Regions from separate parts of the Homo sapiens genome. Here region 2 is linked to region 1. Evidence: promoter capture Hi-C in 16 types of primary human blood cells and fetal thymus (Javierre and others, 2016). All regions are on one chromosome and are shown on one strand. The core of a region is centred on a gene start or on the middle of the fragment in contact, and the rest is flanking DNA. Distances in the headings are between cores, read along the strand shown.

Region 1 (5,042 bases), core at 1,395-3,894:
CCCGGCCCGGGGGGTGCGGGCGGGGGGCGGAGAAACGTAAGGCGCTTTCTTGTCAGGCCCGGGCCTGGGGCGGGACGGGGCGCGGGGCGGGGGCTCGGATTGTGCGGCCGCGCGGAGCTCGGGCCCTACCCCCTTCCGCGGCCCGCCAGTCTGTGGCCGCGCCCTGGGGCCTACTCGGGCTAGGCGGCCCCTTCCCCTCTCGGCGCCGGTTCCCCCGCAGCCCGCCTGGGGGGTCCGGGGCGCCCGGCTGGGTGGGGGCGGCGATCCGTGGCGACGGTGCGCGCTGGTGGGCTCACACCAGGGAGGTGACAGCGGGAACCTTGGAACTATCCTCCTCCCAGGGCTGCAGATTCTGCAGAGCAAAGAGTGACGAGTTGTGCAGACAGAGCGGGTCAGGCTGGATGGAGTCGTTGAGGCTCTTTTGGAAGGCGTCGTGTTGCAGCTGCAGCATGAGCCGGCTCGCCTGCTGCCGCTCCGCCTCCCGCTCCTCCGCCGTCTGCCGCCTGCACCGGGGGAGGGAGAGGGACAGTACCGTCATGCACCCGGCACCGCGGGGCCGCCGGCGGGGCCCCGGCCCTCCCGGGAGCCGAGGCCATCCGGGAGCCTCGAGGCGCAGAACCCGTCTGCCTCCCAGCCCGCGCTTTACGCCCGAGGCTCTTATATCCAGGGAGCCGGTTAGGATCATTTGTTTTTGTTGTGTGCCAGAGGGTCTCCAGGAGGGGACTCTGCCCGCCGCCCACCTGCACGCCCGGGTATTGTGGCTTCACCAACAATAAAGATTGTTCCTTTCGCCAGATAGCAAGGGCAGGGCCTATGTGTAACTGACTTGGCCCTGCGGGAACCGGGGTCGCTGGGGTCCGCGGGTGAGCAGGCTGGCTCTGCACCACCCGCACGACGCCCGGGGGCTGGGTCAGTCTCATCCAGTTCGCCCAGGGCCTGTCTTGAACCCCTTTCCAGACGCGATCGCTTCGCCGTTTACGGGTTGAATCAAAACAGAGATCGGATAAAAACGCGGCTGGAATGGAGACGCGGAGATGGGGGGAGAGGAAACCGGCGTCCACGAGGATTGTTGAAAATCCGAGAGGGCGGGCTGGAAGAAGGAGGAGAAGGAGAGTGCGAGAGGCCCGTGTGTGTGCGCGTGTGTGTGTGTGTGTGTGTGCCTGTGTGTTTGGGGCGGGGGTGGGTGAGAGGAAATCAAGTGAACGCAGGAGACCGTACAAAACACGGGGAGAGAGTTGGAGGGGCTCACGAAAGATGGGGATGGGGATGGAGGAGAAACCAAGGCGTGGGAGACCACGATGGAGAGAGAAGCACAGGCCAGCGAGAAGGGTGAAAGGAAGAGGTACAATCTGCGAAGGCGGGGTGGGGGTGTGTTTGGGGGAGGCAGAGGGGGGCGGGGGTAGTGGATAGCCTTAAAATAGGGCTAGTGCGAGGCTGCGGCTCGGGGCGGGACAGGTGAAGGGCAGGTGTAAGGTGGGCCGGGTCAGGCCTCTCTCACCGCCACTTGGTCCTCCGGTTTTGGAACCAGGTCTTGACCTGCGCGTCCGTCATTTTGAGGGACTTGGCGAGCGCCGCCCTCTCGGCAGAGGCCAGGTACTTCTGGCGATGGAAGCGCTTTTCCAGCTCGCAGATCTGCACCCGGGAAAAGGACGTGCGCGGCTTCTTACGCTTGGGCGGCGTCCGGTTCTGGTAGGGGTGGCCGATGCGCCGGGTCACGGTGAAGGGCGTGAGTGCGGCCGCCGCTGCGGAGACACAGGAGGGCCCCTGAAGCCCAGCCCGGCTCCGCCACCGTTCAGGCCCCATGCGGACCCCGTGGCGCCCCGTGGGACACGGAGAGCTCCGCTATTTCGCTGGTCGCGCGCGTTTCCAGAGACACCAAGCCGGTCGGGAGACCCCCTCGCCCCCTGTCCCTTCCCCCGGGCACGGGCTTATTTTCCTGCAACTCTCCGATTACCCTCCCCACCACGGCTGCCCGGGGCCCTGGGGCCGAGGCCTCCGCCGCGCTTGGGCCTCTGAAATGGTTTCCGGGAGTGGAGCGCACAGGGCGCGGCGCCTCTGGCCCCGAGAGGGCGGAGGCCTGGAGCCTGGTCGCCAGCTCTGCTCACCTGTGAAGCGGTCTTTCACGAAGCGGCGGCTGCTCTCCATCCAGGGGAAATTGAGACCGCCAAGGCTGGAGACCGTGGGCACGGAGGGCATGGCGGGTAGCGCGCTTGGCAGAGGCGGTGGCACGGCCCCGGGCAGCGGCCTGTGCGCCGGCACCCGGATCACGCCTGCGGGCGCTAGGCTCAGGTTCACACTGTAAGATCCCGCGTCCTCGAAGGGCGCGCCGAGGCCCGCAAAGGAGGCGGGCAGAGACGGGTATGTGGCGCCCGGACGGCCCCCGGGGGGCCCTCCCAGGTAGCTGGCGCCGTCGGGGCCCCGCGGGGCGGGTGCGCTGTCCTGGTCCGGGCTGTTAAGGATCTGGTCGATGCCGAAGCTGATGGGCTCGTGCGGGTGCGGGGTCTGCGCGCTGGCGGGCGCCTCCATCCTGGGCGGGCGGAAGGGCTGGGCTGGGCTGGGCGGGGAGGCGGCTGGGTCCCCGTTACGGCGCGGCCATGGAGCGCCCGGCGCCTCTCGTCGCACTGAAACTTTGCCAAGAGTGCGCGGGCCCGACAGGCTCTGTGTCATCTTTCTTGAACCGAACCTGGAGTTTCCGCTGCTAATTCCTCTCCTGCCGCAGCCATTGGCTGCGATCAACAAGCCTCTCTCCTCTCATTGGCTCCCGGCTTTCAATAAAGGCCTAATTCATGGAAATAGGAGCTTAGGGACTGTTCCAAGGTGACATCATTTTAACAAACGAACAATAGGTCAAATTTATTAGCAGGGATAATGGGCGGCGGATATTAGAGCCCGAACCACAGCCTCCCAAACCCGAAATCTAACGAAGCTGCAATTAGCAGACGCTCCCCGCTCCTCCGGGCCGGGCCGCTTCCCAGACACCGCGCTGGGTGGGTAGAGCGCTCCGCTTGTGAAATTGTCTTTTGCTGAGTGGGTTTTCGTTTTCTTCCAATTTTTTTTTTTTTTCATCTGAGCAAAAGCCAAACCAAATGCATCCTTTCAGGTACAATGGAGTTGCAACCCCGGGACGACCCGGCGGAATCCGCAGAAGCCCCTTGGACGCTACCGCCGCCGGAGGAACGAAAGGGGCGCACTACCCGGGGCAGGCTTCGCGCTGCCTGCGCGCGGGGCGAGGGGAGCACCGTAGCGTTCTCCGCGCCCCGGATGACGCCGACCCGCGTGGGGAGAATTCGCCCCCGCCCGGGTTTCGGCCGCGGCCTCGCGGCCACTTTGGAGACACTCCCTGGCTCCGGCCAGGCGGACCGAGGCGTGACTCGCAGGTGCCCACGCGTGCCAGCTGCGGCTGGGCTAGGGACGCGGGGTCGCCCGGTGGGGAGCGGGGACCTGACTCTCGTAATTCGTTGCAGGATGGAAGGGGGCTGTGGTCGCGCGTGGGAACCCGCTCGCGGCTCGGCGGGTCTAGGGACTTCGGGTTCCTGAATGTCAAAGGCGCGGGCAGCTCCTAGAGCAAATTGCGGGATTTCTTTGGGAAACGCGACTGGTGAGCCCTTCCCGGCTCCAGTCCACTTTGGGCGCTGGAACCACTCCCCGTTCTGCTCGCGCCTCAGTGACTGTCTACCCGGCCCAGGGCACCGTGGACAGGACCGCACACGAAGTAGTCACCTTCCGCTGCAGCTTTGGGGAGACAAGCGGAATCATTTTCTTCCAGCGAATTCTAAAATCGTTAGGTGCAAACTCTTTGAGTGTCGCACCCCTGGCCTGGGTTCTTCCTCCCGCTCCTTGTGGTGTGGACAGTGGTGAGAGCTCGGATGTGCTGTTGTTGGCCAGAAGTGTGTTCAAATTTGGACTGGCCATTTCCTCGCTGAGTGACCTTGAGAAATTGACTCTATATATTTAGATTTCGGTTTTCTCGTTTGCAAAAAAGGAAAATAATGCATGCATGCGGGTTGTTCGTGAGCCGCGAGTGAGATATTGAGGGAGCGCAGAGCACTGGGCCTGGCACGTAGTAGGCACTGGGCAGCGTGGCTCACCTCCCACTCTATCCCCCCAGAGTAATGGCTGATGTATTATTGTTGTGACTCTTGTTTATTTTGTTGGCAGTTTAATTTTATTTGCAGGGGCTCAGTACGTTGGAGAGAAAGGTGTATTTGTCTACCAGTAGGGTCAGTTTCAGAGGACGGGGAAAGACAGGAGGTGCAGGTTGGGGATTCTTTCTCTCTTCTCCCAACAATCCAAAGGCGTCAGGATTTGCAGGGCCTCCAGGCCTGGGTCTGGAGTTAGGTCACTTGCCCGCTGTGTGACCTTGGGCAAATTCCTGGCCCTTGCTAAGCCTTCCTGGTGGGTGTGGAGAGGGAGGCCCAACAGTGAGGAGTGAGAGCTGCAGGATGTCTGGGGTCTGGGCAAGTGCTCCCTCACTCCCTTCCAGCGACAACGACCCTCAGATGGGGTAGATGCCATTGCCCTGGCTCCAGGGGGCCTCCTGCTTCTAATTCAGGCTCTGCCACTGGCAGTGTGGGTCCCTAACCGCCCCTCCCAGAACCGCATTTTCCTTATTTGTAAAACAAAAAGGGCACCAGCTACCCCCAGGGTGGCTGTGAGAACAAAATGAGATAACATCTGTGGCAGTGCCTGTGTGAAACTCTGGCGGTTATATCATAATAACTTTAATGACAACTATAAAGCTACTGTAGCTGAGACCCTAGCCTGTGCCAGGCAGGGAGGTGGACACTTATTTATTCTTCACAATGACCCTGTGAGGAAAGGGCTGTTAGTGGCCCCAATTTCTCACTAATGAGGGAATTGAGGCTTTGAGAGTTCAAGGGAAGCACAGCTCCCCACTTGGGGGCTGGAGTTGGCACCTCACCAGCTCCACTTCCCTTCTGGCTTCCAGTGCCCGGGACTCAGGGCTGCCCTTGTCACTTCAGACACTGTTAAATCAGGACAACAAGGCCCACCGCACAGAGGTTTGTGGCACAGAATTAAGG
Region 2 (4,899 bases), core at 1,357-3,856, 320 kb after region 1:
TAACATATTAGTATAGAAGTGATTAATTAATATAGGGAACTTTTAAATAATCATGAAATAAATGATTAAAAATTAAATAATCCACAATATTCCTCATTCAGTTTTGCAGGAAACATTTGACATTAAAGGATCACTATCTTGAAACCTAAAATTCTTTTCGCAATATTTCGATTACAAACTTGTAGCTATTATGACTTATGTTTCCAAATGATACTCAAGCCATCATAATATATGGATGTTAAGCATTCACTGAAGAGGAAGCAAAGATGTGGGATGGATTATTTACACAGACTGAATAGCTTCAGCGTTTCTGCAGCACAAGTAGGATAGATTATATCTCATCCTGATTCCCTTCAAGCAAGATACTTAAGTCAATTATAAGCATTAGAAAATACTTCCAAGTATGTAGTATGAGATTCTCACTGACAACTATTTTTGACAAATAATAATTTTAGCACCACCATTACAGGTGAACATATTTCTAGTAAAAACTTAGTAGAGGGTTTGCCTATGACTTTATTACTGAAATACCAAAGTTACTGACGTGTATTCACACATGATCTTACTTTAAGCAACTTGAATATTTTTAAGATAGCAAATTCTACCCAAGACTCCGGTAAGGAAGGCTTCCCATCTTCATCTTACAAACTGGTTGCCAGTAGCTAGGACTATAGGTGCATTGCCACCATGCCTGGCTAATTTTTTTCCAGTCAAATAATGGCATATTTAATTTGGTACAAAAATAATAAACAGTAAGAGGTATCTGGCAGAGTCTCTGAATGTTCAACAACATCCATCCTTATTCCAGAAGCAAGAACTATCACATAAGTGCAAAGATCATGTATGTATAATACATATATAATGAACTGTAGACATAAAATTTTAATTATGAAAATCTTTTATCAGGGAAAATATGCATATTTGTGGCCCTAGCCTTCTGATTTGTGGACGAAGATTGCCTTGTTGATGATTTCCACAAGATCCAATGACTATTAAAAAAAATTACAGACTGATGGAGGGACTGGGTTTTCAAGTCGTAAAATTTAGTAACTAAAACCTCTTTCAAATTGAAAGTCTTCTTTAGTGCTGACAACTCTTCAAAGTACATCTACTTGGTATTTGGGTATTTAGTCACATACTACATGGTATTTCATTTATTATTCTTATTCCTAGAATCACCAAAAAAAAAAATCAAACACTAAAAGATAGGTGGAATACAGAAAACTTTTCTCTACCAGATGAAATTATCACCCTCTCCCTTACTTAAAAAAAAAAAATCAATCATCAAACTATAATTACTCGAGAACAATCCAAAAAGTGCCATTCACATCAGAATGCACGTGGAGTTTTACTTTGTGCATTTATCCACAGATACCGAATTTTATAATGATTGAGAATTTATAATCATTAAAAGTAAGTAGAAAAAAAGAGAGGAAAAAATAGAGTAAAAATATTCTGTGGGTAAGCATATATTTTATTAAGTAATCACAAAAAATCATCATCTTTGAATTCTTCCAGGATCTAGCATAGCACAAGGGAGAGAGTAAGTGTTTAATGTATATATAATTACATAACAAAATATAATTCTCACAAGATTTGATGTCAAATAATGGTATATTTGGTATGATAAATAAATAGTAAAAGTCAGCTTATTAAAAAAAAACTAAGCCCATATTTTTCCAATTTACTTCCTGTATTTCTCTAACTTACACCATAATTTTAATTACCAGTGGCTGCAAAGATTTTAACTAGATTTTTCTGCCCCAAACATCCTCGTCTAGTGCTTAATGCTCTTGCACCAACACTTAAATGCACTTATGGAATTCATTCTCAAAAGTAGAATTTGGCAAATCTATTTATACAGCAAAGACGTTTTTAAATAAAATAATTAGGCCTTTAGTCTAATTATTTGCTCAACTTTCTGTTAAGCAGGTATAAAATGTGTGTTTTTAAAAACAGTTAATATATATTACCATGTAGGATAAAAAAGTGGGAAGCGGTATAGAGAAATTATTTTTTTTTTAAAAAGGCCTATCTGAATACTAATGTATTATATATGTATTGAGCATATGACATGACTATTAAAATAACAAATCCCTGAACAATAAAACTATCTAGCAGTATGTACATTAACTTGAAATATAAGCACTAACCACTCACCAAGAAGGAAAACCTAACTAGGTCAAATTGTTATCTATTACAAAAACTGATTATGATATATTTATTCAGTATATGGTAGTCAAAAAGCAGCCCAGAAATAGTCTGAAAAGCTTTAAAACACTTAACAGAAAAAAATCCCTAAAGTCACTAAGCATTATTCTGTAACAATCAAGCTTCAACATATAATCTTAAAGGTCACAGGTGCCTTTCCCCTATAATCTACATGATATATTTGGCATGCTGAAATATTTAAAATGTTTCAATGTTTAGTGTTTAAAAGGTATTAAAGCTGCTACCTATTTTTCACCAAAGTGAAAATTCTATGTATGAAACAATTTGTTTAGGATGAACTTTCTAAACACTTTTCCCCCAAATTGTGTATCAAATACAAACATACAAGTTGCCAGTAATCAGAATATATCCAAGTACCATGAAACAGCAGCTAGTACATTATTTTAACATTGGATTGCACTTAAAGTTGTAGTAGTCCATTGAAGATACTATCATGAAATGTTTTTCTATTTCCTTATTCAAGTGTTTTCCTACTCAATTTAACAGTAACTGTTATTACAGTAACATACCATACAGGAAGACATAACAATTGCAGGGAAAGAATGCCATCTGCTGCTTCATATGTGTACTCAACAGTAGGAAAAAGGTTGAATAATAAGTAATTACACAAAACAATTTAGAAATCCATATACACAGATAAAGCTTGAAAGTTTAGATAATTCCCCGTTTTTATTTTGGACAATTTGAAAATACATCAATGAGAACTTATCTTTTAAAAAATTTCTAGATTTGCAATTATTATGGGTACATCACAGGTATATATATATATATGTTTATGGGGTTCATTTGATGTTTTGATAAAGGCATACAGTGTGTAATAAACATCAGGGTAATTGGGGTATCCATTACCTCAAGCATTTGCCATTTGTGTTAGGAGCATTCCAATTCTACTTGTTTAGTGATTTTAAAATATACAATAAATTATTGTTCACTATAGTTACACTACTGGAGCACTTATCGGCTTAATGCAAATTTCAAGTTATTCCACAAAAAAGATCTAAACATGCTTATATATCACTAGTTCATGACACTTATAAACAAGGCTTTTACTCAGGTACTGAGAGCCACAGAGTCAAAAGGAAAGGTTCACTTCCTGGCCTTTACAAACTTATTTATGAATTACTATATTATCCTCTTTAGAAACTTGTGGTTTATATGCAAGGAGATCATATAATTTATCATCCAAACAGAGACATTTTTGAGAATGAAAGATGAAGCTATTAACTAACAATCTGCCAAGACAACAAGCGTGAGCTGGGGAAATCTCAGGCAAATCTGGATGTATGGTAACTTTATTTATAAATTACTATTCTGTTTTCACTCCCTCTGGCTTCATAACCTTCCCAATGCCTTGAAAATCTTCCTGAAAAGCAATTTGGAAATTTTTAGGAAATATGTAAATTCAGAAGAATGAAGGCAAAAAATAAAAAGGAGGAAACTAGCATAGGTATACACTCCCAGACAAGATGGTACCCCTATCCAAGCAGCTACCACAACACATACTGATTTTTTCACTTCACTTTGTTATACCATTTGAATTATTTGGCACTAATAAATATTTTCTTTAGGAAAGGCAATCCTTTCCAGGAGAATTCATTTATACAATAGCATGACATCCTTCAATTGGAATGTTTTCCAGTTGACATCTGGCAGATGAAAGGTACTGGAAAGAAAGCAGATTTGCACAAGTGCACACACGTGTGTGTTTTCCTGTATACCTAGATGGTGATGAACAAAAGAGATACAAGGGATTTCACCCTTTGGTGGTGAAAGATTGAATAGGATATCAAAACAAGGAATGAAGAATGAGAGCAAAAATTTTGAAGATTAACTTGTCTATTTCAAAATTTAAATGGAAGAGAGAAAGGGAATTACTTCTTGCTCAATTTCTGGTATCCTGTTTTGGGAGGACAGAATTCAGGCAAATTCTATTATACTATGCTTGATCAGTATCACTGTTTATGGGTCTATTTTTAAAGGAAAATACATTCCAGGACCTTAACAACACGTATTTATTAATTTTTGGAATTTCACTCACTGATAAGGTTTCATAACCAACCAAGACAAAACTGATGTTTATGGTAGGGTAAGCTTGAATAAAGGGATTTAAGAACAAAGTTCAAAACTTCTAACTTTTGGTAGATATTCAGAAGCTAAGATGTGTGTGTGTGTGTCTGTGTGTGCATTTGTGTGTGTCTGTGTTTGTGTATGTATGTGTTTGTGTGTATATGTGTGGTTCTGCGTGTGTGTGTGCCTGTGTGTGTATATGTGTCTGTGTGTGTCTGTGTGTGCCTGTGTGTCTGTGTGTGTATATGTGTATGTGTCTGTGTGTCTGTGTATATGTGTGTGTCTTTGTGTGTGTGTCTGTATTTTAAAAGGACTCTTCCTTATCCATTTTTAAAACTTAAAAATCACATTTTAATTGGATTAAAAATTAAAATGGACCTTTTCTAATAGACATTTAATATAAAAAATAATACTTAAAATTGTTATCAATAAACTAAGATAATTTATAATTAGAGTAAATGGTGACACACCAGGTAACAACTAATGGATACAAAAATAAACAGGAAATACTGTAAAATTCTGATACAGTCTAAGAAATATTCTAAGAGTTTTAACGTTTTAAATTATACCCTAATAAATAGGTGATCATTTACATATGTA

The links. The method cuts DNA at HindIII sites, captures the fragments that hold promoters and counts their contacts. A CHiCAGO score of 5 or more calls a contact.
Region 2: a fragment that was not itself captured here is called in contact with the fragment with the promoter of TLX3 in region 1 in 1 of 17 cell types (endothelial precursors); the score reaches 5.4 in endothelial precursors.

Annotation. Positions count from the first base shown.
Region 1 is chr5:171,306,850-171,311,891 of GRCh38, reverse strand. TLX3 (T cell leukemia homeobox 3) reads right to left here and starts at 2,644. Exons shown (of 3, transcript NM_021025.4): 1 at 2,106-2,644; 2 at 1,499-1,742; 3 at 1-503. The coding sequence starts at 2,526. The coding sequence ends at 293. RefSeq lists enhancers at 496-1,381, 1,382-2,266, 2,267-3,152, 3,153-4,037. The HindIII fragment of the contact is 15,951 bases long and covers 1-5,042 here.
Region 2 is chr5:170,984,666-170,989,564 of GRCh38, reverse strand. The region is part of intron 14 of RANBP17 (RAN binding protein 17); the gene reads right to left. Among named protein-coding and RNA genes, the nearest start is that of RANBP17, 130 kb to the right of the region's middle. The HindIII fragment of the contact is 541 bases long and covers 2,336-2,876 here.